6 separate regions of the Homo sapiens genome follow, and regions 1, 3, 4, 5 and 6 are each linked to region 2. The links are contacts of gene promoters, found by promoter capture Hi-C in blood cells and fetal thymus (Javierre and others, 2016). All regions are on one chromosome and are shown on one strand. The core of a region is centred on a gene start or on the middle of the fragment in contact, and the rest is flanking DNA. Distances in the headings are between cores, read along the strand shown.

What was found. Contacts are between HindIII fragments. The CHiCAGO score rates a contact against its expected background, and 5 or more counts as called.
Region 1: a contact is called between a fragment that was not itself captured here and the fragment with the promoter of CRAT in region 2, in 5 of 17 cell types (M1 macrophages, activated CD4 T cells, M0 macrophages and 2 more). The highest score is 7.7, in M1 macrophages.
Region 3: a contact is called between a fragment that was not itself captured here and the fragment with the promoter of CRAT in region 2, in 1 of 17 cell types (naive B cells). The highest score is 5.1, in naive B cells.
Region 4: a fragment that was not itself captured here is called in contact with the fragment with the promoter of CRAT in region 2 in 17 of 17 cell types (M0 macrophages, naive CD8 T cells, M2 macrophages and 14 more); the score reaches 16.7 in M0 macrophages.
Region 5: a fragment that was not itself captured here is called in contact with the fragment with the promoter of CRAT in region 2 in 5 of 17 cell types (naive B cells, total B cells, naive CD4 T cells and 2 more); the score reaches 6.1 in naive B cells.
Region 6: the fragment with the promoter of ASB6 here is called in contact with the fragment with the promoter of CRAT in region 2 in 2 of 17 cell types (neutrophils and monocytes); the score reaches 6.1 in neutrophils.

What each region holds. Positions count from the first base shown.
Region 1 is chr9:129,727,610-129,731,840 of GRCh38, reverse strand. No RefSeq gene overlaps it. Among named protein-coding and RNA genes, the nearest start is that of PRRX2-AS1, 11 kb to the right of the region's middle. The HindIII fragment of the contact is 202 bases long and covers 2,507-2,708 here.
Region 2 is chr9:129,109,035-129,113,637 of GRCh38, reverse strand. CRAT (carnitine O-acetyltransferase) reads left to right here and starts at 2,845. Exons shown (of 14, transcript NM_000755.5): 1 at 2,845-3,155. The coding sequence starts at 3,129. PTPA (protein phosphatase 2 phosphatase activator) reads right to left here and starts at 2,223. Exons shown (of 10, transcript NM_178000.3): 1 at 2,007-2,223. The coding sequence starts at 2,037. RefSeq lists silencers at 1,910-1,959, 2,650-3,089 and enhancers at 1,487-2,027, 1,960-2,239. The HindIII fragment of the contact is 8,818 bases long and covers 1-4,603 here.
Region 3 is chr9:129,839,267-129,843,214 of GRCh38, reverse strand. All of the region lies in intron 1 of USP20 (ubiquitin specific peptidase 20), which reads right to left. Among named protein-coding and RNA genes, the nearest start is that of USP20, 5.8 kb to the right of the region's middle. RefSeq lists an enhancer at 3,314-3,814. The HindIII fragment of the contact is 4,052 bases long and covers 149-3,948 here.
Region 4 is chr9:129,623,773-129,627,778 of GRCh38, reverse strand. It overlaps NTMT1 (N-terminal Xaa-Pro-Lys N-methyltransferase 1), which reads right to left and starts at 1,616. Exons shown (of 4, transcript NM_014064.4): 1 at 1,484-1,616. RefSeq lists a silencer at 1,252-1,491 and enhancers at 1,105-1,643, 3,496-3,545, 3,556-3,695. The HindIII fragment of the contact is 3,086 bases long and covers 283-3,368 here.
Region 5 is chr9:129,781,356-129,785,467 of GRCh38, reverse strand. No RefSeq gene overlaps it. Among named protein-coding and RNA genes, the nearest start is that of TOR1B, 20 kb to the left of the region's middle. RefSeq lists an enhancer at 3,274-3,774. The HindIII fragment of the contact is 8,751 bases long and covers 1-4,112 here.
Region 6 is chr9:129,639,252-129,643,844 of GRCh38, reverse strand. ASB6 (ankyrin repeat and SOCS box containing 6) reads left to right here and starts at 1,694. Exons shown (of 6, transcript NM_017873.4): 1 at 1,694-1,958; 2 at 3,123-3,304; 3 at 4,337-4,443; 4 at 4,535-4,593. The coding sequence starts at 1,846. RefSeq lists a silencer at 1,328-1,927 and enhancers at 2,634-3,190, 3,191-3,748. The HindIII fragment of the contact is 16,646 bases long and covers 1-4,593 here.

The DNA.
Region 1 (4,231 bases), core at 1,358-3,857, 620 kb before region 2:
CGGTGTCTGAGCCCCACCTCCAGAGTTGAGTCCCACCTCCTACCTCACAGCCATTTCGTTAAAGTATGTTTCTTTCTCTCCCTTCCTTCCTTCCTTTTCTTTCCTTCCTCCCTTCCCTCCCTCCCTCCCCGTCTCTCTTTTCTTTTCTTTTCTTTTCTTTTCTTTCTTTCCTTCTTTCCCTCCCTCCCTTCCTTTCTTTTCTTTTCTTTCTTCTTTCTTTCTTTCCAAGACAGGGTCTTGCTCTGTCATCCAGGCTATAGTGCAGTGGCACAATCATAGCTCACTGCAGCCTTGACCTCCTGGGCTCAAGTGATCCTTCCACCTCAGCCTCCCAAATAACTGGGACCACAGGCATGCACCACCACACTTGGCCAATTTTTTGACTTTTTTGTAGAGACAAGGTCTCGCTATGTTGCCCAGGCTGGTCTCAAACTCCTGGACACAAGCGATCCTACTGCCTCAGCCTCCCAAAGTGCTGGGATTACAGGCGTGAGCCACTGTGCCCCTCCTAAAATATGTTTCTAGAAGTAAAACTGCTGGGTCAAAAAGGCATGTCTGTTTGGGACGTGTAGTACATATTGTCCTCCAAAAAGATGGTTCCAATTTGGACAGGATTTTTTAGAGTGTTGTCAATTTTTAGTACCTAAGTAGAGAAATTTACAAGTATATATATAAAGAATAGGGACCACCCAGAATCCCACCTCCCTGTAAAAAGTCACTGGTCACATTATCGTTTATGACTTTCCAGATTCTTTTACTATGCATGTTAAACATATATAATGTCATATGGATATATGTGGATATATATATCTAAAAGAGAGAGTGAGCCTGGGAGGTAGGCAGTGTTTCTCCACCTCTAAGCCCCTTTTGATGATGTTATTGTGATGGTCCCTAGAGATGCAGGTTTGAGGCCACCCAGCTGACGGTGGCTGCCCCCTCAGTATCTACACCAGCCAAGAAGAGTTTGAGTAGCTTCACTTTTAGAAGTTTGAATTATGAAACTAGGGCTTTTTTTTTCCATTTTCCAAATATAAAATTATAACACGGAGTTATATATATTTTTTATTATGTTTGCTGACTGTCCAGAATTGAACTTGGCCAGGCGCAGTGGCTCACGCCTGTAATCCCAGCACTTTGGGAGGCCCAGGTGGGTGGATCATTTGAGACTGGAGTTCGAAACCAGACTGGGCAACATAGTGAAACCCCATCTCGAAAAATAAATACAAAAATTAGCTGGGTGTGGTGGCGCATGCCTGTAGTCCCAGGTACTTGCGAGGCTGAGGCAGGAGGCGGAGGTTGCAGTGAGCCCAGATCATGCCACTGCACTTCAGCCTGGGTGACAGAGTGAGGCCATGTCTCAAAATAATAATAATAATAAATAAAAAAAAATTTAAAAGGTGACACTACATTGTAACCTCATTGGAGTGGATTTTTGCTGGCAAAGGGGTTGGATGGGAAGCTGTTGCTACAGGGAGACAGGGAGGAGGGATACAATGGAAAGAGGGGACCGAATTGTTAGGATTGTCTGAAGAATCTGGCCAGGTGCAGCAGCTCACGCCTGTAATCCCAGCACTTTGGGAGGCTGAGGCGGGCGGATCACCTGAGGCCAGGAGTTTGTGACCAGCCTGGCCAACATGGTGAAACCTTGTCCCTACTAAAAATACAAAATGAATCAGGCGTGGTGGCAGGTGCCTGTAGTCCCAGCTACTCAGGAGGCTGAGGCAGGACAATCGCTTGAACTTGGGAGGTGGCGATTGCAGTGAGCCGAGATTGTGCCATTGCACTCCAGCCTGGGTGACAAGAGCGAAACTCTGTCTCAAAAAAAAAAAAAAATCTGGGTAGGGACGAGGCGGGGTTAAGGTTGGATGGTGGCACTGTAGACACCTGGCCTGGGTGATTGATCTTTGCTGCAAGGGCCCTGGGGAGCCAAGGGAGGCTCTAGGCAGGGAAGAGACATGATCCGTGATCAAGGCTGTGTTTTAGACAACTGGCCTGTTGACTGTGCAGAATGGCCAGGAAGGAGATAAATAAGACAAGAGGCTGTTTACTGTGGACTGGCAGGTAATTAGAGCAGGGGCCTACCATCCAGTCTGCTCTGTGGCAGGTCTGGGGGTTCCCTGGGTGTCCCGTGGGCCAAGGGAGGCCAAGCTCAAGGTGAACTTTCTTTTCTTTCTTTCTTTTTTTTTTTTTTTTTTTTGCGGGGGGGAGACAGAGTCTTGCTCTGTCGCCCAGGCAAGAATGCAATGGGGCAATCTCGGCTCACTATAACCTCTGCCCCCCCGGGTTCAAGCAATTCTCCTGTCTCAGCCTCTGGAGAAGCTGGGATTACAGGTGTGCACCACCACGCCTGGCCAATTTTTGTATTTTTAGTAGAGACGGGGTTTCACCTTATTGGCCAGGCTGGTCTCCAACTCCTGACCCTCAGGTGATACTCCCGTCTCGGCCTCCCAAAGTGCTGGGATTACAGGTGTGAGCTACCGCACCAGCCAAGGTAAACTTTCAAGCTTCATTCCCACCTGTGTTAGTTTTTTATGGCTGTGTAACAAGTTGCCAGTTTAAAACTATACACGCTTACGATCATACAGTTCCTGTAGGTCAGGAGTCTGGGCGAGGCTCAGCTTGGTGCTGTGCTCAGGACCTCCCAGGGCTGCAATCGAGGTGTCATCCAGGCTGAGTCTCACTTGAAGCTCAGTGTCTTCTTCTAAGCTTGTTTGAATTGTAGGCAGAATTGGGCTCCTTGTGGTTCTGAAACTGAAGCCCTCAGCTCCTGGCGGCCTCCCCCTCCGCAGGCACTTCACAGCATAGCTGTTTGCGTCTTCCAGCTCAGCAGGAAAGTGGCTGTCTGCTTGGAATCTCTTCTTTCAGGGACAACCTGGATCTTTCAAAAGGCTCGCCTGATTAGGTCAGGCCCACCAGGGAGAATCTTCCTTTTGCTTACATCAGCGTCAACTGAGTGGAGACCTTAATTACATCTGAAAAATCCTTTCACCTTTGCCGCACTCTATTTGTCAGAAACAAGCCACAGTTTCCGCTCAAGGAGAAGGGATTACACAAAGGTGGGACTACCTGGGGTGGGAATCACAGGGCCATCTTTTTTTTTTTTTTTTTTTTTTGAGACGGAGTCTTGCTCTGCAGTGCAGGCTGGAGTTCAGTGGTGTGATCTTGGCTCACTGCAACCTCCACCTCCCGGGTTCAAGCGATTCTTCTGCCTCAGCCTATCGAGTAGCTGGGATTACAGGTGTGTGCCACCACGCCTGGCTAATTTTTTGTATTTTTAGTAGAGATGCCATGTTGGCCAGGCTGATCTCAAACTCCTGACCTCAGGTGATCTGCCTGCCTTGGCCTCCCAAAGTGCTGAGATTACAGGTGTGCGCCACTGTGCCCGGCTAATTTTTTGTATTTTTAGTAGAGATGCCATGTTGGCCAGGCTGGTCTCAAACTCCTGACCTCAGGTGATCTGCCTGCCTCGGCCTCCCAAAGTGCTGGGATTACAGGTGTGAGCCACTGCGCCCGGCTGGCAGGGCCATGTTAGAATTGTATCTGCCACACCGTCTCTCTTTTGAGTCCCCCTTCTGATTTCAAGGTGCTCATTCCTGACTGCCTTATATCCCAAGCTCAATCCATTCCCACTTTTTCTAAGGTGTGAACTAAGAATTAAGAAGTTCTTGGAGAGCCATTACGCAGTGGCTCACACCTGTAATCCCAGCAGTTGGAGAGGCCAGAGCGGGAGAATCACTTGAGTCCAAGAGTTTGAGGTTATAGTGAGCAAGGATCTCACCACTGCACTCCAGCCTGGGAGACAGATGTTCTCAAACACACTGTTTCCAGTACCTCCACTGACCAGCAAGTATCCAGAGGACACATCTAGCTCTGTGTGAGGCACCAGGGGGACACAAAACACAGGGAAGAAAGCACTTTTTTTTTTTTTGAGACGGAGTCTCACTCTGTCACCCAGGCTGGAGTACAGTGGCATGATCTCAGTTCACTGCAACCTCCGCCTCCCGGATTCAAGCAATTCTCCTGCCTCAGCCTCCTGAGTAGCTGGGACTACAGGTGTGCGCCACCACGCCTGGCTAATTTTTGTATTTTTAGTAGAGACGAGGTTTCACCATGCTGGCCAGGCTGGTCTCAAAATCCTGACCTCGTTATCCGCCCGCCTCGGCCTCCCAAAGTGTTGGGATTACAGGTGTGAGCCACCAGTCCCAGCCAAAAGCACATTTTTTTTTAACCT
Region 2 (4,603 bases), core at 1,596-4,095:
CCACCACACCCAGCTAATTTTTGTATTTTGAATACAGACGGGGTTTTGCCATGTTGGCCATGGCTGGTCTCGAACTCCTGACCTCAAGTGATCCGCCTGTGTCGGCCTCCCAAAGTGCTGGGATTACAGGTGTGAGCCACTGTGCCCGGAGTCATCACCAGAACTTCTAAGGCTAGCTTGTTCAACCCACAGCCCAGGACAGCTTTGAATGTAGCCGGACACAAATTTGTAAACTTTCTTAAAACATAGGCCAGGCACGGTGGCTCATGCCTGTAATCCCAGCACTTTGGAAGGCCGAGGCAGGAGGATCACGAGGTCAGGAGTTCGAGACCAGCCTGGCCAATATGGTGAAACCCTGTCCCTATTAAAAATACAAAAATTAGCCAGGCATGGTGGCGCACCTGTAGTCCCAGCTACTCAGGAGGCTGAGGCAGGAGAATCGCTTGAACCCGGGAGGCAGAGGGTGCAGTCAGCCGAGACCATGCCACTGCACTTCAGCCTGGGGGACAGAGTGAGACACTGTCTCAAAAAAAAGAAACACAAAACCATTATGAGATTTTTTTTTTTGCGACTTTTTTTTTAGCTCATCAGCCATCGTTAGTGTTAGTGTATTTTATGTGTGACCCAAGACAATTCTGCTTCCAATGTGGCTTAGAGAAGCCAAAAGAGTGGACACCCCGGTTTTTTTTTTGGGGGGTGACGGAGTTTCACTCTTGTTGTCCAGGCTGGAGTGCAATGCCGCGATCTCAGCTCACCGCAACCTCTGCTTCCCAGGTTCAAGCGATTCTCCTGCCTCATCCTCCCTAGTAGTTGGGATTACGGGCGTGTGTCACCACGCCCGGCTAATTTTGTATTTTTAGAAGAGACGGAGTTTCTCCATGTTGGTCAGGCTGGTCTCGAACTCCCGACCTCAGGTGATCAGCCCGCCTCGGCCTCCCAAAGTGCTGGGATTACGGGCATGAGCCACCGCGCCTGGCCTGGACATCCTTGTTCTAAGGGCACACACCCAGAGGTTTTGTACAAAATAAATGTCTGGTTTTGAATGTCCTAAGAAACGGAACCCAGCTCTTTGTTCACCTCTTTTGTGGGGCATGGAGGGGATGCCTTTTCTGATTTTCAACATTTCTCCCTCCTGAGACCTTCCCAGGGACCCCAACATTGGAGACAGGATAGCAAGAATATCAAATGCTTTCAAAACATTAGCTGTGTTTGGTCGGCCAACCTATTTGCCTCTGTCGGGAATGTAAAAGTTATCTATGGCCAGTCCTTCTTAGTTCAAGGTAGGTCGGCAAACAGCCTTCTCCTTCTGCACAAAAAGGGTCTCTAAGATCCTTCCGTAGCACCTCCATCCCAGTTATTTAAGATGAACTAAAAAGAGGCTACAAGGTAAATAAGAGTTACCGAAGGAGATGCCGGAGAGACTAACCTCCTTGCACAACCAGCCTTTTAAAATTAGGGATTTAGACACCACGGGCAGTTTCCCTCAATAAATTCTCAGGCACTGGAACCAGAGAGTAGGAGGATGAGGGGTGAGCAGGACGCGGAGGCCGAAACTGGAGGCGAGGCGGGCGCAGGCCCACGGAGCACCACCCCATCCCCTAAGCAGCGACTAATAAAGACGGCAGCCTCCGGAATCACTTTCGCCCCCCTCCCTGGCAGCTTCCCCACCGAGTCAGCAGCTTACTTAAGCACGCGCTGCCCAGAGATGCAAAAGGCCCCCTTATGACCACGGCGCTGCCCACCCAGCATTCGGGCAGCCTGGACTCCCACAAAACCCAGAGTTGCGCCCCAATCACCACCCCTTTGCAGCCCCTGGTTCCCTCCCCAGCGGCGCCCCACCACCCACCTCTCCCCTAAGGCCATTCAACTCAGTCCCTCCTCGGGGCCCCTCAGCTTTTGCCCCTCCAGTTCCTCCGTGTCATGACTCTCGCCCTCCTGAGCCTCCCACACCTGGCACCGCCCCCACCCTACCCGACCCCGGCCCGGCCTGGCCCCGCCGGCCTTACCTGGCGGCGGCTGCCGCTCGCCCTCAGCCATCTTGCTCCGGCCAGGAGCCGACCCGGATGCTTGCAGTCCCCTCTCGCCTTTCACTCTTGCACCCACCCTTCCTCTCCCCGGCTCCACCAAAGGCTCCGAGCTTCCTGAAGACAAGTGAGCGCCGGCCGGCTATAACCGAAAACCGAGAGTTAAAGTCACCACAGCGAAGACGGCCGCCATGTCGGTGCGGGGCGCTCAGGGAGCAAGCCTATTAACGGCCGGCGCGCGGCGGACGCGCGGAACCGGGCGACGGCCATGTCAGTGCGGGGCGCGCGGGGCGCATGCGCGCCAACGGCCGCCAAGCGCTAGGACCGCTCACGGCCGCCCGAACGTCGGGCGCCGCGACTGCCACGATTGTGCGGGGCGTCAAGTTTGGGTTGTGCTCAGCCATGTTTTTCCGGGACAGTCTCCTGTCCCGGAGTACCACCTGTCATCTTTGTGGGTGGTACTGACCCTAACCCAAGGAATATTAGAGGACATTCCCCGGTCAACATGGTTGTGTTTTCCTATCACTCTAAGAGTTAGGCTCAAGGACACCAGACGGAGTTGGAAAGGTGCACACCACTACCTCCAACAGCTTAGAAGACATGTGGGGACAGGGGAGAGACAGCTGGACGGTGACCTCCTCCTTCCTCCTCCACAGGTCTCAATGACTCGCCCTCGGCCCTGCCCCTCTGTCCCCGCCCGCCGTGGTCCCGCCCCCGACTCGCAGCCAGCCTACTGCGACCCGCTACCGGGCGACGCCCCGCCCCTCCGTCCCCGCCCCTCCTGTCCCTCCTCAAGGAGACTCCGCCCCATCGATGCCCCGTCCCCGCCCCACAGCCAACCTCCCGGGCACCGTTGCCCGCCCGGGGCCCGCTACCGGCCCAGGCCCCGCCTCGCGAGTCCTCCTCCCCGGGTGCCTTCCCGCAGCCCGCTCGGCCCAGAGGGTGGGCGCGGGGCTGCCTCTACCGGCTGGCGGCTGTAACTCAGCGACCTTGGCCCGAAGGCTCTAGCAAGGACCCACCGACCCCAGCCGCGGCGGCGGCGGCGCGGACTTTGCCCGGTGTGTGGGGCGGAGCGGACTGCGTGTCCGCGGACGGGCAGCGAAGATGTTAGCCTTCGCTGCCAGGACCGTGGTGAGTGCGGCGGATCCCGGGCCTGAGGGCCCTGGACGGCCTGGGCGGGCCGTGCGGTTGCGTCCGGGAACGGAGACCGCGTCCTGCGGCCGCTGTTCGACCCGGCCTCCAGCTGATGGGGTGGGGTCAGGCGGGCGTCCCAGGTTTGGCAGAGCAGGAGATTGGGGCGCAAGGTCAGAAGCGGGATTAAACCCACGTCCTGGAGCATTCAGTTCCAACGACCCAGGAAAGACAAGGGGGACCCCGGCTTCAGTTAGCACCCCCACCCTTAGACCCAGAGACAGGCCGGTAGGGGAGAGAGACCAGGAGCATCCAGACCCTAGCTCACTCTCCCAGTTATTCTCCGATTGACACACCCGTCGCACGCTTAGGCCAGAGCCACTCCTCCGACCCTGTCCAGTTGGTCACACTCCTTTGGTTTATCAGACGGTCCCTGGGGAATTGTGTGTGGCCAGAGAAACACGCGGAGGCATCAAGCTAGAAAGGCCTCAGAACTGGCAGGTGGCAGCCCCATGGTCTCCCTCCCCTCCAGCCCCCTTCCCCACCCTGGCTGTATCCTTCCCTCCAGCCCCCTTCCCCACCCTGGCTATATCCTCCCCTCTAGCCCCCTTCCCCACCCTGGCTATATCTACCCCTCAGTCCTCCCCGGTGAGCAGCCCGGATGCTAGCCTAATTTCAGTCCCTTCCGTCCCTGATCCAAGCATATGTTGCTGGTGTCTCACTCTGTCTCAGACACACACTACGGGGCCAGAGGGCGGAGGGTGCATCCAGGCTCAGGCCTAGAGGCTCTTTTAGGTGTTGCAACACCCTGAGCCTCCACCGCACCCTTGTCACTGTCTCCCAAGCTGCATCCATCCCACAAACAGCCTCTAGATCATCCTCCAGGACCATCCGACTGGACTGGTTACCTTCCTGCAGGGAAACTGAGGCAAGGAGGGACTTGCCCAGAGTCCCCTGGACCTGCTCATTCAAATCCAGCCCAATCCCAGTGTCCTTTGGTTTATTTTTCATACCAAAAGTCCTCCGCTCTTGGACCCTAGCTGAATGAGCCACAGCTCAGGAAAAAATGAGTGTTCGTAGAGGGATGGCTCAGATGGGTCCCAGGAGTCCTGGAGAGAAACAGGAAATAGGCAGGGCTTCTGGCTGTCCCATCCACTGATGGCCTTTTCCTGGTGTCTGCTCCCTTGCACCAACCCTAATTTCAGGACCGATCCCAGGGCTGTGGTGTAACCTCAGCGGCCAGGCAGTCTCTGTCCTCCAGCCAAGTTTTCCCTCATCAAAACGATCTTCGCAGATTCTGACAGGTGGATTTTTTATTACCTTTTGTCCTGACTCCCTGGCACTGAGCCCATGCAGAGAAGAAAGGAAAGAACTTTCCAGGTTCCCTTCTACTGGAATGCCCCCCCACTAGCCCTCTCACCTGCTCCCCATTCCTCTACTTCTGGGAG
Region 3 (3,948 bases), core at 925-3,424, 730 kb before region 2:
CAAGTGATCTGTCCACTGCGGCCTCCCAAAGTGCTGGGAGTACAGGTGTACGCCACCATGCCCGGCCTACATCTTTGACCAAAAAAAAAAAAAAAAATTATTGGTCAAAATGTGTGCTTTGAAGGCTCTACATAGATATTGATAAGCTTCCCTTTAGAAACAGTATATACATTTATCTGCCTATCAGCAGTATATGAGTATGTGCAACATAAAAAGTTTAAGGTTTACTAACATTTTAAAAATTAATGGTTAAAAATCATTTCTATGAAGGAAAAAGGGCGGTAGTACAGAAAACACTGGGTGCTTAATATTCCACACAAAGGGCCAGGTGCGGTGGCTCACAGCTGTAATCCCAGCACTTTGGGAGGCTAAGGAGGGTGGATCACAAGGTCAGGAGTTCGAAACCAGCCTGACCAACATGGTGAAATCCCATCTCTACTAAAAATACAAAAAATTAGCCAGGTGTGGTGGCACATGCCTGTAAGCCCAGCTACTCAGGAGGCTGAGGCAGGAGAATCGCTTGAACCCAGGAGGCAGAGGTTGCAGTGAGCCGAGATCACGCCATTGCACTCCAGCCTGGGCAACAGAGTAAGACTCCGTCTAAAAAAAAAAAAAAAAACTTCCACACACAGGACCTAAAATATCGGAAGCATGGGGGTCGACAAGAGGGTGCATATCTCAGCTGTCTGAAAGTTATCATTTTGCTTCCTTTTGGTACCCAACCAACACTGACCATGTACCTCCTTAGGAACAGTGACTTGGGGTGCTGGGAAACAGCCAGGCATAGGCCCTGCTCTTGTAGTGTACAGAGTCCCATACTTCAACCTCAGGGTACTTGCAAGCAGACACTAGGGAGGTGATAATCACCACCAGCACCTCTGTTTCCTACACTCACTGAGGGTTAGCTGCTGCACATACATTATCCCGGGAGGTAACGGTCACTATGGAAGGAAATTACAGGGACAAGTAGCCCTGGGTTCAGTACCTCACTCTGCCCCTTGCAAGTCTGTGACTTTAGATAAATCGCTCAGTCTCCACATTCATAAAATGGGGACAATGACAGCACCTAGGGTTACTGAGAAGATGAAGTGAGCCAATGCACAGTAAACGCTAAGTTGAATGACTTAGGGCCTCATGGACTTTCTGGGTGGCTCAGATTTTTTATTGATTTGCATGACAAGAATGCTCAAAAAATGTTTACTACTATAATTTGTGTCACTGGCTGTTCTATACATTAGGACACTGAAATTGGTAGGAATAGAAGTCACATGCTCAAGGTCACTCAGAAGGGCACCCTCCATGAGACCACTCAGGGCTCTGCAGGCCAACCAGCCCAGCAACGAACAGGCGCCATGGTGATGGAGTCAGACACACCGCAGGGGACTCATGCACGGATTCTTGGTGCGCTTCCTGAGATCTAAGCTCACCTCCTGGTGCTTTTGACATCAAAGAAAAAGCCAGGAAAGGCAACTTCATGGACTAGAGCAAACCCTTCAACAGCTTCCCTGTCCTGGGGCAGCCTGCGCTTCTGAACCCCCATTCCTGCTGAGCACCTTTGCTTCCCTGCAACGTGAAGGTTCCCTTTCTCCACCAAGGCTGAGAAACTGTTCCAGGCAAGACACTGAGGAGACATAACAAAGCTGGATTGTGGGTCAATGTGGGGGGATGCCACAAAGAACATCCCCAGGACAACCAGCATGCCTGAGTGTGGACTGCCTGTTAGATCATAGTATTTGTTATGGACTGAATTGTTCTCTCTCCCCCATTCATATGCTGAAGTTCTAACCACCAGGACCTGAGAATGTAATCATATTTGAAGATAATGTCTTTAAAGAGGTAATTAAGTTAAAATAAGATCTTTAGGGCAGGCCCTAATCTAATCTTACTGGTATCTTTATGAGATGAGAAAATCCGGACTCACACAGAGGAAAGACCAAGCCAGGACACAGTGAGAAGATGGCCATCTGCAGGCCAAGGAAAGGGCCTTCAGAAGAACCAAACCTGTCGGCACCTTGATCTGAGACGTCTAGCCTCCAGAACTGTGAGAAAATAAATCTCTGTCGTTTAAGCCACCCAGTCTGTGGTACTTTGTTATGGCAGGTCTGGGAAACAAATACATGATTCCATCAATGTGAAAGTTTCTAGGCCGGGAGTGATGGCTCACGCCTGTAATCCCAGCACTTTGGGAGGTTGAGGCTGGCGGATCACCAGAGGTCAGCAGTTTGAGACAAACCTGGCCAACGTGGTGAAACCCCGTCTCTACTAAAAATACAAAAATTAGCCGGGCATGGTTGTGGGCACCTGTAGTCCCAGCTACTCGGGAGGCTGAGGTAGAAGAATCACTTGAACCTGGGAGGCGGAGGTTGCAGTGAGCTGAGATGGCGCCACTGCACTCCAGCCTGGGTGACAAGAGCAAGACCCTATCTCAAAAAAAAAAAAAAAAAAAAAGTTTCTAAAGGTGGAACTCACGCTTTGGTTATGTATGATAATATCCTTATTCTTAGTTAATTCCCGCTGGGATATTTAGGGGAAAAGGACTGTGATGTCTGCAGCTTACTCCTACCTGAATCAGCAATAATTATGACAATAACTATAGAGATTAGAGTTAGAGTAAATAAGGCAAATGTTACTAATTCGTGAATCTAGGTGAGGGGTATGTGGGAGTTCATTGTATTCTTGTAATTTTTCTTAAGTTTGACTTTTTAAAAAAATAGATTCCCTTTCTCACCTTTGAGGTGGGAGCAGGGAGCGGGTTTTCTGGAACAGGCAGCCCCATCGCAGGATCCAGGACCCAGCACCCACTGAGCCTCCAGACCTGGTACCCAGGGCTTTGTTCACCCACTCTCTAGGGCAAGGGCGGCTGTTTCTCATCTCACAGAGGAGGAATGGAAGGTCCCAGACAGGAAGCAACACAGCAGGAAGCGAGCAGGTTGTGTCTGCTTTCCCCACTCTTTCCGTCCCACCTGTGCCTCTGTGCAAATATATGGAGTGTGCACAGCAGGCATTTCATAAAGGCCAAAAGGGAAAGACACCTGTGCAGCTGAAAGAACGTGCTTCCAGGTGCAGCCACGCAGAGTAGGACCTACTGTACAACAAGTCAGCAAGGTGCAGCGTGTGCCCCGCCCTCCCGGCCCACCAGAGCCTCCTCTCTTGGGGCAGGAGAGCACAGGATGGGGGGAGGAAGGCCTGAGACTTTTGGCAAAGAGCCCACCATTGCTGGCCCCAGGAGACCTCCAAGATGCTTCAGGCTCATAAAGGCAGCTTTCCTTCCCTGGGCCTCCAGGGTGGGGGAAAGTGCCACTCCACCCACAGGGGCAAAGTGGAGGGGCAAGGCCTGAGGAAGGGCAGGGGAGGGACCAGCCAGCACAGCCTGTGGTCCTAGGTAGGCAGCACATCTGGACCTGGCTGCCTCTGGTGCCTGTTACTCATTGTTTTCCCAGAGGTTCTGGCTACATCCTCCTCCTCCCAGCGAGGAACCAGTCCCTCAGGATGGGGAGGGCGACACTTCTGGGCCTCCCACCCACACAACGATGCCCACAGCCCTGCCCACGCTGACCCCAACCACATTAGCCATCTCACACCCCCAGCCCCGCACAGGGTGTGTGCCCACCCCCTCCACAGTCCCCTCTGGCCCTCGCACACCCTTTCTCTCCCTCCTGCTGTCTTTACTCTACCTCCACACAACAGCATTCTCCCTAAGTCCCAGACACACCCACCCCTTCCCTTAACCCAGTCCTCACTCGGAGGCCACCATCCTCTGACTCTCGAAGCAGAGCCCTCAGGCCTCCCCATGCCTCCACACTTCCACAGTCTCTGCTGCCCACACACTTCTGTGTCTCCTCATCGCCCTTCCCCCTGCCCCACGGCCCTGAATATTGGAACTGACACTAACATCTTAGTCTGGTGTTCTCACATGTGACCTCACTGGACCCTCACAACCACCCTGGG
Region 4 (4,006 bases), core at 576-3,075, 520 kb before region 2:
GATCTTTGTGGACAGCAGCAGGCCACATGCAAACGGCAGAGTGCTCTAAGAAAAAGAAGGAAGTGAGAAAGGGAGGGAAGAAGACAAAACAGGGGATACATTTAAAAACTAACAAAGGCTCTGATGGAGCCAGATGAACCAGATCTGAATCTTGGCTCTGCACACCTGCTGTGTAAGCACAGACAAGACATTAAACCTCACCATTCCTCAGTTCACCTATAAAATGGAACAGTAATACCGACTTTACAGAAAGGCTGTGATTAAAAGTGCATATGAAAAGCTTAAAGTGCTTTGCACAGTGCCGGGCACATATTCTCTCTTGAGCTTAGAAATCTCTGTCAAATGAGATTCTTGTCAACTCTGCCCACTATGAGGATCAAATGGGAAAACTGCCTTAGAATGCCACAGAAGCTGTATTGGACACACCTAGGGGACTGTTACTGGTATGCTGGGCGGCCAAGCCAGCAGACTCAAACAGCTCTGCAAATCAGCCAGAGTGGGGAGTGAGCTTCCTCTGCCTATAAGCACAGAACCCCCACCGAGATTTTTTAGATGCCATCCTTGTGATCCTAGGGCTTCCGGCCTCCACCAAAACGCTCCATGCATCCTTCCAACCCCCGCACAGTCCTCAGTTTACATAGAGAAAAACCAGCACACTAAAGGAAGTGACGTGTCTTTAAACATACAAACAGGAAGCCGAGAACAGAATTAAGGAGGGAATCCAGGCTCCTTATACCAGCCCTGGTTCCTCCCAGAGGCTCATCCCATCTCACTGGGCAATCATTCTACACACCACAACCACCGGTTACACTGTCCCTCCCCGCTGTCAGGGCCTCTGACACCAGTTGTGGCAATCACTTATAGTACAGAGGAGAAACCAAAGTCCAGAGGGAGAGATCACACAGTTGGTGCGCAGCAAAGTCTGGGCTTTTCGATATGGCAGCCTCCCTGCAGACAGGCTGACCTTGGCCGCAAGGGCTCTCGGGCTGTCTTTTTTGAGCTGCACCTGTGTCGGGCTGGCGCTCGGGTGGCACCCAAGGTTAAATACGACAGCAACTTCTGTGCAGCGGGCACTTAACTGTGCCAGGCTCTGAACTGGGCATTTTACCGATTTTACCGATTCCTCCCATCCATCCTCCAAGTGGGCGCTCTCCATATCCCTGTTTCTCGGAAGGGAAACAGGCTCAGAGAAAGGGATTTGCTGCGGTCTGGGGACCGGGGTGGGGGAGTGCCCTGCCTGGGCTTTGAGTGCCTTGACTTTCCTCCTGTACCCCGACCCATGGACTGCTCCGTAGTCCCTGCCCAGGTCCGGCCCGTAGACCTCTTGGGGACGCGCACGTGAGGCCTGTGCCGGCCCGCGCGCACGCGCCGGGTCACGTGACGAGCCGGGGACCCGGGACCTCAGGGCGCCGAAACAGTTAGGGGTCGCAGCCTCCCCTCTCCCAGCGGCTGCCTACCCTTCGCACCGCCTCGCGCTACTCACTCCGGGCGGGGGCTCCCGGGACCGAGAGAAGAAGATGGGGAAGAGGAAGGGAGGGCGGCGGCGGCGGAGACGCCACAAGCCAACCGCAGCTCCGCCAGACCACGACCAGACGCGACAGCTCGCGGCGCGCGCTGCCTTTGTCCGCCAACGTCACTTCCGGGCGTTTAGGGGCGGGCCCATGGCTGGCTCCACCCCCTCGCTCAGCTCGCCCCTCCCCCGCGCGGGCTCCGGATTTAACTTAACTTCTTTTGAAAAATAATTTAAATTTTTTTTTTTTTTTTTTTGAGATAGAATCTTGCTCTGTCAAGCAGGCTGGAGTGCAGTGGCGCGATCTCGGCTCACCGCAACCTCTGCCTCCCAGGTTCCAGCGATTCTCCTGCGTCAGCCTCCAGAGTACCTGGGACTACAGGCGTGAGCTACCACACCCAGCTAATTTTTGTATTTTTAGTAGAGACGGGTTTTCACCATGTTGGCCAGGCTGGTCTCGAACTCCTGACTTCAAGTGATCCGCCCGCCTCTGCCTTCCGAAGTGTTGGGATTATAGGCGTGAGCCACCGCACCTGGCCTAATTTGACTTCTTTAAAAAAAAAAAATTAGAGACGGGGTCTCACCCTGTTGCTCAGGCTGATCTTGAACTCCTGGCCTCAAGCGAGGCTTCCACCTCGGCCTTCCAGACTGCTGGGATTACATGCGTGAGCCACCGCGCCCAACACAGGTTACAGCTCAAAACTTGACTAAATTGACTTTTGGGAATCTAGAAGGACCTCCCGAACGGAAAAGAGCCGCAGCGTCGCCCTCTCCCCGTCCCCAGCACGTACAACAGTTCGTTTGGAGGCTGCAGGCTGGACTTCTAAAAACGAGTGTGTTGTGCGGGCTTTGAGTAAAAAGGGAAAAAAAAGCCATTGGTCCTCAAATCCACCCATCTCCATTAGCATCTTAAAATAATACCGACCCCCCAAAATAAATAAAATAAAAAGAAATACTCTCGGCAGTGCCATGGGATTCCCACTGAAATGAGCAAAACAAGCCCATGACGTTTCCATTCCAAAAGCGTGGCCCTTCCCTAGGCTCCTCCCATGCAAAGAAATTCTGGAGCTATCTCCGAGGCAGCGGTGATGGAAACGGGAGCTTGCAGGTGGGTAGAGCCTGTTAACATTTCCGAGCTTCAGTCTCCTGTCAGAAGAGGAAGTTGAGCAACGTAATAATTACTCAACTTCTGATGCTCTGAGAGGGTTAAACTTGTGGGACATTGCACGTCAGACCTTCAGCTCAGCACCTGCAGTGGGTTCTCAGGAAATGGAAGCTGTTATAATGACAATATCCATCTTAAGTTCATTTTTCCTATACTATTAATAATATCCTTGTGTTGGCAGGGCACGGTGGTGCACGACTCTAATCCCAGCATTTTGGGAGGCCAAGGCAGGCGGATCACCTGAGGTCAGGAATTTGAGACCAGCCTGGCCAACATGGCAAAACCCCGTCTCTACTAAAAATACAAAATTAGCCAGGGATGGTGGTGCATGCCTGTAGTCCCAGCTACTCTGAGGCTGAGGCAGGAGAATAGCCTGAACCTAGGAGGCAGAAGTTGCAATGAGCCTAGATCGCGCCATTGCTTTCCAGCCTGGGTGACAAGAACGAAACTCTGTCTCAAAAATAAAATAATAATAATACTATCCTGGTGTTCCTTCCTCTGGGCGACGCACACAGAAGGTGCTTAAAGTGTGTTTGCTCTAAATGTGTTGAAAGCTACGGTAGAAAGGGGATGCTAAAAAGCCCCTTCTGCATTGAGTCCGCAGGATGTGTGTATGTGCATCTTATTTGGCATACCCTCTAGACTATTCTAGGTCACAACTGCTACCCCTGGTCTGAGCCCCTCTCCCAAGCTTCATTTTCTGTGTCTTTAAGCAAAGGGATTGATCCTGGGCAATTTCAATCGGTGGGGGTGTCCGGAATCCTCCGCCAGGGGGCAGCTCTGATCCAAGCTCTCTGTATGCCTAAAAATCCAGCCCTGTCTTATTTCCTGTCAACAGAAGAGCAAGCCCCTTCCCCACAGCCACGCTCCAAGGCCTTCCCAGGACTGGCCGGCTCCCTGACCTCAAAGCCTCTGGCATCTCTGAATTCCCAAGCCTAGCACATAGTAGTTCCTTGATAAATATTTGCAGAGTGCAAGGGCTGGAGGGCTCCTTAGAAACCATCTAGTTAGGCCAGGCGCAGTGGCTCACGCCTGTAATCTCAGCACTTTGGGAGGCCGAGGCAGGTGGATCACAAGGGCAGGAGATCGAGACCATCCTGGCTAACACGGTGAAACCCCGTCTCTACTAAAAATACAAAAAAATTAGCCGGGCGTGGTGGTGGGCACCTGTAATCCCAGCTACTCGGGAGGCTGAGGCAGGAGAATGGGGTGAACCCAGGATGCGGAGCTTGCAGTGAGCTGAGATCGCGACTCCGTCTCCAAAAAAAAAAAAAAGAAAAGAAAAGAAAAAAAGAAACCGTCTAGTTAATCTGGTGTTTCGCAGCCATTAA
Region 5 (4,112 bases), core at 1,244-3,743, 670 kb before region 2:
GAGTCAGAGTTGAGGAAAAAGCAAAAGTAGCAAGATGATATACACTCTTCTCTCTCCCTCCCTCCCTCCTTCCTTCCTTTCTTCCTTTCCTTCCTTCTTTCCTTCCTTCCTTCCTCTATTGCCCACGCTAAAGTGCAGTGGTGTGATCTCGGCTCACTGCTACCTCCGCCTCCCGGGAAAAAACGATTGTCATGCCTCAGCCTCTCGGGTAGCTGGAATTACAGGCATGAGCCACCACGCCCAGCTAATTTTTGTATTTTTAGTAAAGACAGGGTTTCATCATGTTGGCCAGGCTGTTCTTAAACTCCTAGCCTCAAGTGATCTGCCTGCCTTGGCCTCCCAAATTGCTGGAATTACAGGCATAAGCCACAATGCCTGGCCTATTTACATATTAAAAATGCAGCATGCCGGGTGCGGTGGCTCACGCCTGTTATCCCAGCACTTTGGGAGGCCAAGGTGGGTGGATCACGAGGTCAGGAATTCAAAACCAGCCTGGCCAAGATGGTGAAACCCTGTCTCTACTAAAAATACTAAAAAGTAGCCGGGCCTGGTGGCGGGTGCCTGTAATCCCAGGTACTCGGGAGGCCAAGGCAGGAGAGTCGCTTGAACTCAGGAGGCAGAGGTTGCAGTGAGCCAAGATTGCACTATTGCACTCCAGCCTGGGTGACAGAGCGAGACTCCATCTCCAAAAAAAAAAACAAAAACAAAAAACAACACAGCACCCTATCCATTTTTATGGACACATAATACATGTGTAGCTGAAGTAAAAACTAAACACAAAAAGGAACTGATATTTAAGCATATCCTGAGAGTGACAAAATTTTTTAAAAAAAGGAATTGATATACTTCAACTTAGACATGGAGATAACTTTTGGAGAGGAATCCCAAAGTGATGGGGCTTGAAGTTTTAGTTTTATTAAAGATATAGAGATCTAGGCCAGGCACGGTGGCTCATGCCTGTAATCCCAGCACTTTGGGAGGCTGAGGCAGGAGGATCACTTGAGTCCAGGAGTTCAAGCCCAGCCTGGGCAACGTAACAAGACCCTGTCTCTACAAAAAATACAAAAATTAGCTGGGTATGGTGTTGCGCGCCTATAGTCCCAGCTACTCGGGAAGTTGAGGTGGGAGGACTGCTTGAGCCCGGGAGGTTGAGGTTGCAGTGAGCTGTGATGGCACCACTGCACTCCATCCTGGGCAATAAAGCGAGACCCTCTCTCAAAAAAAAAAAAAAAAAAGAGATTTGAAGCAAATATAGTAAAATGCAAAATGTAATCTCTGCTAAATCTGGGTGGAGAGTATGTTCTCTCCTCTATCTTTGATGAAATAGTTGATAATTAAATGAAAAAGTTAAGATGGTCTCTAGAGGGATAGCTTACACACATCAGGAGAATCTGGCCTTTGGTAACCTGAAGAGTGTTGCTATTTTTGCCGGTGAGAGAAGGGCTAGAAAGCATCCATTTCTCCCCAACCGTGCCTCGCCAGGGGCTTGGCCGAGGGAGCCTGGGGTACTTCCCTAATCTAACCACTAGATGGGGCCAGTACTACGGGTTAGAAATGGGGAGACCCGAGGGAGGGCTGTGGGATCCTTCTAGCAACTTGACACAAGGAAGAATCAGTTTTTGCAAGAAACAGAGGATGATAATTTACTTGAGAACATGAGAGACAGGTAAAGGTAGAAAAACAGCAGTCACAGCTGGGTGCGGTGGCTCACGCCGGTAATCCCAGCACTTTGTGGGGCTGAGGAGGGCATATTGCTTGAGTCCAGGAGTTCGAGACCAGCCTGGGCAACATAGCAAGACCCCTGTCTCTACAAAAAATAAAATATTACCTGGGCCTGGTGGCATGGTGCCTGTAGTCCCAGCTACTCTGGAGGCTGAGGCAGAAGATTCATTTGAACCCAGGAGTTTGAGGCTGCAGTGATCCACAATCGTGCCACTCCAGCCTGGACAACAGAGTGAAACTGTCTTGAAAAAAAGAAAATGAAAAAGAAAAACAGGAGTCAGGTAACAAAAGAACCCCTAGTTAAAGTAGCAATATCATTCAATACCATTCACAGGTATTGGTAAAGTACCTATTTTCTTTTTTTTTTCCTTTTTTTTTTTTTTTTTTGAGACAGAGTCTCGCTCTGCTGCCCAGGCTGGAGTGCAGTGGCGCAATCTTGGCTCACTGTAAGCTCCACCTCCCGGGTTCTCGCCATTCTCCTGCCTCAGCCTCCCGAGTAGCTGGAACTACAGGCACCCACCACCATGCCTGGCTAATTTTTTGTATTTTTAGTAGAGACGGGGTTTCACCGTGTTAGCCAGGATGGTCTCGATCTCCTGACCTCGTGATCCGCCCGCCTCGGCCTCCCAAAGTGCTGGGATTACAGGCGTGAGCCACCGCACCCGGCCAAAATACCTATTTTCTAGTCTCCTAAGTTACCCGAGATGCAGTTGTTAAGCATTAAAACAGATGCCAACAGGGGTTCAGGGAAATTCCAGTTTCTATCCCTTTGGGTTTTTTGTTTTGTTTTGTTTTGTTTTTGAGATGGAGTCTCGCTCTGTCGCCCAGGCTGGAGTGCAGTGGCGTGATCTCGGCTCACTGCAACCTCAGCCTCCAGGGTTCAAACGATTCTCCTGCCTCAGCCTCTCAAGTAGCTGGAATTACAGGCGCATGACACCACGCCCAGCTAATTTTTGTATTTTTTAGTAGAGACGGGGTTTCACCATGTTGACCAGGCTGGTCTCAAACTTCTGAGGTCAGGTGATCCACCCACCTCGGCCTCCCGAAGTGCTGGGATTACAGATGTGAACCGCCATGCCCAGACCCTTTCCCTTTGTCTGATTGATATCATTCCACCCCTGTTCACTGAACCAACCAGAGGCGTGTGCACCTTCTGGAGGCTGGAATGATTCGTGTTAGTCTGAATGCCTGGGCTTTGGCATAAAGGCCCTGAGTCCATCTTCTGGCTCTGCTCCTGATCAGCTCTGTGACCCTGGGTGATGGTCTTAGCCTTTCTAGGCTTCGGTTTTCTGATCTGTAAAGTAGGGATGATAATAACATTACCTAGCCTGTAGTCCCAGCTATTTGGGAGGCTAAGGTGGGAGGATCCTTTGAGCCCAGGAGTTCAAGGGTGCAGTGAGCTGTGACCGCACTACTGCACCCACCCTGGGCAACAGAGTGAGAACACTATCCTATCTCCAGCAGGCACGCAGGGCCCCATAACTTAAGCTCATGTGATCTTATCCCTGCCCTCTTCTTGGCCCTAGAATCCTCACCATGTATTTGCTCTGCCTAGACTGGGCTGTGCATTCCTCTGGGAAGGGGTGGTGGTTATCTCGCTCATATCCCAGGGCCAGCACAGGGATAAACTTAAAATTGTTTGGAATGAACAACAACAAAAAAATCAGGGCTGGGCGTGGTGGCTCATTCTTGTAATCCCAGCACTTTGGGAGGCCGAGGTGGGAGTATCACTTGAGTCCAGGAGTTTGAGACTACCCAGGACAACATAGTGAGACCCTGTCTCTATGAAAAATTTAAAAAGTAGCTGGGCATGGTGGTGTGTCCGTAGTCCCAGCTACTCAGGATGTAGTCCCAGGCTACTCAGGAGGCTGAGATGGGAGGATTACTTGAGCCTGGGAGACCAAGGCTGCAGTGAGCTGAGATCATGCCACTGCTCTACAACCTGGGTGACAGAGTGAGACTTTGTCTCAAAAAAAAAAAAAAAAAAGAAAAAGAAAAAAGAAAAAAAGAAAAAAGAATAGGCGGGGCATGGTTGCTTACACCTATAATCCCAGCACTTTGAGAGGCCAAGGTGGGCAGATCACTTGAGGTCAGGAGTTCAGGACCAGCCTGGCCAACACGATGAAACCCCATCTCTACTAAAAATACAAAAATTAAGTGGTCATAGTAGCATGAGCCTGTAATCCAGCTACTCGAGAGGCTGAGGCAGGAGAATCTCTTGAACCCAGAAGGCGAAGGTTGCAGCGAGCTGAGATCACACCGTTGCACTCCAGCCTGAGTGACAGAGACTCCGTCTTAAATAAATAAATAAATCGGTCAATTTGGTCTAATCCAGTGAATGTCTCAAGTAGCATTATTGAGGCATATTTTCCATATCATAATTTACCCTT
Region 6 (4,593 bases), core at 445-2,944, 530 kb before region 2:
GGGAGGTGCCTCGACTCCAGAAAAGTGGTTTTTCCAAGGCAAGCTGGAAATGTCCATTTCCATGTGAGCAGAATTTCCCGATTTCACCCAGGGAGAAATTTCTTTCCTACAGCGAGAACCAAGGCAGAAACGTGCTGGCAGCTGTGGACTCTGCGGCCTGGAGCTGCTTCTAGGAAGCCCAAGCTGGTGTTGCCCTAAAGGGGCTTAAACCCGGCTGCCCACTCCGCCCCTTCTTCCTGAACCAGAGGGTTTTGGCTCCTTCCCACTGAATTCCACTTCCACCAACAATTACAGTGCGCTGGCTCCAGCATCTCAGGTGAGTGTGATTATACTTTTTTTTTTTCTTTTTGAGACAGAGTTTCGTTCTTATTGCCCAGGCTGGAGTGTGATGGTGCGATCTCCACTCACTGCAACCTCCGCCTCCCGGGTTCAAGCAATTCTCCTGCCTCAGCCTCCCAAGTAGCTGGGATTACAGGCGCCTGCCACCACGCCCGGGTAATTTTTGTATTTTTAGTAGAGACAGGGTTTCATCATATTGGCCAGGCCGGTCTGCAGCTTCGAACTTCTGACCTCAGGTGATCCACCTGCCTCGGCCTCTCAAAGTGCTGGGGATTCTACCCATTTTACAGATGAGGAAATCCAAGTTCAGAGACAGGCGGTAGCACACTCCTGTGTTCCCAGCTTCTCGGGAGGCTGAGGCGGGAGGATCACCTGAGCCCAGGGGTTCAAAGCTGCAGTGAGTCATGATCACTACACTACACTCCAGCCTGGGAGACAGAGTGAGACCCTGTCTCTAAAAAATACACAAGATTCGGGCTGGGCACCGTGGCTCATGCCTGTAATCCCAGCACTTTGGGAGGCCGAGGTGGGAGGATCACGAGGTCAGGAGTTCGAGACCAGCCTGGCCAATATGGTGAAACCCTGTCTCTACTAAAAATACAAGAATAAGCTGGGCGTGGTGGCCAGCGCCTGTAATCCCAGCTACTCGGGAGGCTGAGGCAGGAGAATCGCTTGAACCCGGGAGGCGGAGGTTGCAGTGAGCCGAGATCGTGCCATTGCACTCCAGCCTGGGCAACAGAGCGAGACTACGTCCCCCAAAAAAACAAAAACAACAACAACAAAAAACAAGATTCACTGAGTCCATCAAGGCAGAGGTGGAGAGGGCTAGCAGCCGTCCTGGCCAGGTGCTCCCCGGGACAGAGAATAAGAAACTGAGGAGGGGACGTGCGAGTACCCTGGTCCTCATCATTCCAGTCAGCGGGCCGGGTGGTGACAGAGGTGGCCCAGCCCCTCTTCAGGGAAGGCGAGGGCCAGCCCGAACCGGAAGGGGCAGTGTCTGATGACCACAGCTCTCAGGGGCGCCCAGGGCCAGTGGGGCAGCGGCAGGGCCGAGAGCACGACCGGCGGAACTCGGACGGCGCCCAGCGGTCGCGGGCGGGATCGCAGGGCGAAGCCGAGCCGGGCCGGGCCCTGGCAGGAAGGGGCGGACCCGCCTGAGTCTCGGATCTGGCTTGGCTCGATCCTCCACTCTCCCACTCCGCTGGGGCCGCCCACTGGACATCGCCCGAGTCGGCCTGGCGGTCGTGCCCCAGGACGCGCCGAGGTCCTCCGAGCCCGCAGGGGGCGCTGTCGCCATATGGCCCACCCTGAGTCGGCGCGGGCAGGAAGTACGAGGGTCACTTCCGGCGGGGGCGCGGCTTGGACTGAGGAGCGGACCCGGCCGGGCGCAGGGGCTGGACTGGCGGAGCAGGTGGGGTCCGCGGCCGCCGGAGCGTTCCGGTCGGCGTCTGGGCATCTCGGCCTCGGCAGAAAGCGCGACGGCCCTGCTGCGCGGGGCCCGCGGCGATGCCGTTCCTGCACGGCTTCCGGAGGATCATCTTCGAGTACCAGCCGCTGGTGGATGCGATTCTGGGCTCCCTGGGGATCCAGGACCCCGAGCGGCAGGAGTCTCTGGACCGGTAACTCACCCCCTCCCGTGAGCTGGCCGAGGCCGCTCCGACCCCGCAGCGTCCCACTTTATCACCACAAGCCGGGCGGGGTGGATGCGTCCCCCTTGACAGAGGAAGGGACGGGCGGAAGCCGGGGTTGCGTGGCTCGGAGTGCGCGCTGCCCCGCGCGGATCCCACTCCTGCCCCTTGCATGGCGGAGACGAAGGGCGGGGAGGGCCCGAGGGCGGAGGCCCGCGGGTTGTCGCAGGGCCTGCGCCTCAGCCCCACCCTGTCGCCTGCCTGTCCTGTGCCACCCCCCGGCGTGGCAGAGGAGCAGGGTGGAATCCGTGAGGCCTCAGATGTTACCCCAGAGCAGTGTGAAGGTGGGCTTTTGTAGCAGAGTTTGCGTTTTTATAGACAAGAGCTGGTCTGTCGTGGACCTGCAGGAAAGGGGTCGGGAGCGAATCTGCATTCACTGCCCATGGTACTAGGCACCTGGGGTCCATCAGTGGCTCAGCAAAACCCCCGCCTTCTTGGCGCATGTGCTCCAGAGGAGAGACTGACAAGTAATTGTACGGCGGCACGCGAGGTGGAAGGGAGGGGAGAGCAGAAGGAAGGGGCTCGGCTCAGGTGTTGAGGGGGTTGTCAGTTGGTATTTCCAACACGTGGTAATGATGAGTCTCGCCATCCAGGGACTCTGGTGGAAACGTAGGCTTTCTTCATCAATATCAGCTGAAGGTCTCAATGTGAGGGGAGGGAGGAGGCTGTGTTGCTGTCCTGGCTGCAGGTGTTGCCGGGGCTGGGGTCCTGCGGGTTTGAGGATGGAAGGGCTTTCTGAGGAAGAAGCATCAAAGTCGGGCTTGGGCTCTTGGCCTCCAGGCTGGTGGTCCCTTCAGTCCCAGCAGCCCAGGTGTGTGAGGCTTTGTACCTAAGTCTGCGACCGGACTCTGGGCAACGCGGGAGGAGAGCGCAGACAGACCCAGCCCATTCTCCGCAAATCCCAGTCTGCTCCCGTATTAAGAGATGCAGCGTGGCCCTCTCTCTACTTCAGAGCTTCCCCCAAGCCCCTGTGACCCACAGAGCCAGGGCCCTGCTTGCTGATGATGATAGCAGGACTAAAGCCCACCAACCCACAGGCTGCGCGGTCACCCGGTCCCACAGCTGTGCCTACCCTCAGCCTCTCTCCTGTCCCAGGCCCAGTTATGTCGCCAGCGAGGAGAGCCGAATCCTTGTTCTCACTGAGCTGCTGGAGAGGAAAGCCCACTCTCCCTTTTACCAGGAAGGCGTGAGCAACGCCCTGCTCAAGATGGCTGAGCTGGGGCTGACGCGGGCGGCCGACGTTCTCTTGCGGCATGGGGCCAATCTCAACTTTGAAGGTCAGCGAGAGCCCCGGGGGTGGGCAGGTGGCTTAAACGCGGCCCGACGCTGGGTGGGCGCCCATGTCCCCAGCCTTGGCTTCTACCATCCTCTGAGGAGTGACTTCCCCCCCTTTATTTCCTGGGTGGCTGCAACTAAGGAAACTCCCATTGGGTGGCCTCCCACCCCCTGCGGGTTTTCACATGGCTCTTCCCACCTCTGTTCCAAGAGCGAGTGTTGCTGCTTCTACCATGTGATTGATTAGCAAACTTTCCCCAGCTCCCAGATTAATCCCCACTTCCATTAATGCAAAAATGCGGCTGCTGGCACTGTGCCCAGAGCTAAGGGAAGGTAATTTTCTGCTACTTACTCTGAGCCAATTTGTTTTTTTTTTTCTCATGCCGTAGGGAGAGGGGAAAACAGGCTGCATTAGGCATAAATCACCACAGGACACCCTGGCTCCTGGCTCCTGAGTGCCAGGGATGGAGATGGAGCCGAGCTCCTTTCTCTGTGTTTTTCAGCCCAGGGAGGGCAGGGTTAGTCGGCAGACAGGCAGGGCTGCCTTGTGACCTAATAGGGGCCTGAGACAGCCAGGCACGTCTCCTTTCCCCATCCGAAGACGGGCTTGGAGTCTGCTGGGCTCCTGGAGGGTCAAGGAGCTGAGACGGGAGGGCCGGTTCTGAAGCCAGTGACTTGGAGACCAGCTTGGAGAACCTGGCTGTTACCACCAGGCCTACAAAGCAGAGCCGCCAGAGCTGCTGTGTAGCGCGGCCTCCCAGCCATTCTGAGAGGGTGCGCCCCGTTTTATGGTCCCTTCTTACAGAAGAGGAAACTAAAGCCCCCAACAGCTTCAGTAGCGTGCCCACTAGAACACCCCGAGGGCCCTCTAGTATCTGGTGAGGACAGCTCTGTCCTAACCCTTGATGGTGACAGGAGGCTGGGCCTGTGCTTCTGGACACTTTAGGTGGGAGTTTGGGGCTGGGCTCTGGGTCCGGGGGCCCCATAAGAATGCGGACAGATAGGACCCACATGAGCTGTGTCTGCACCTTCAGACCCAGTCACCTACTACACGGCCTTGCACATCGCCGTCCTGCGGAACCAGCCGGACATGGTGGAGCTGCTGGTGCATCACGGGGCCGACGTTAATCGGAGGGACCGGGTAAGTGCCAGGTCCAGCTTGCTTTGAAGCAGGGTTGGGCAGGGGCCTGAGCAGCTTCCCAAGCCAACCTGGCTGTGCTTCCTTGGCTCAGATCCACGAGAGTAGCCCCTTGGACCTGGCCAGCGAGGAGCCTGAGCGCCTGCCCTGCCT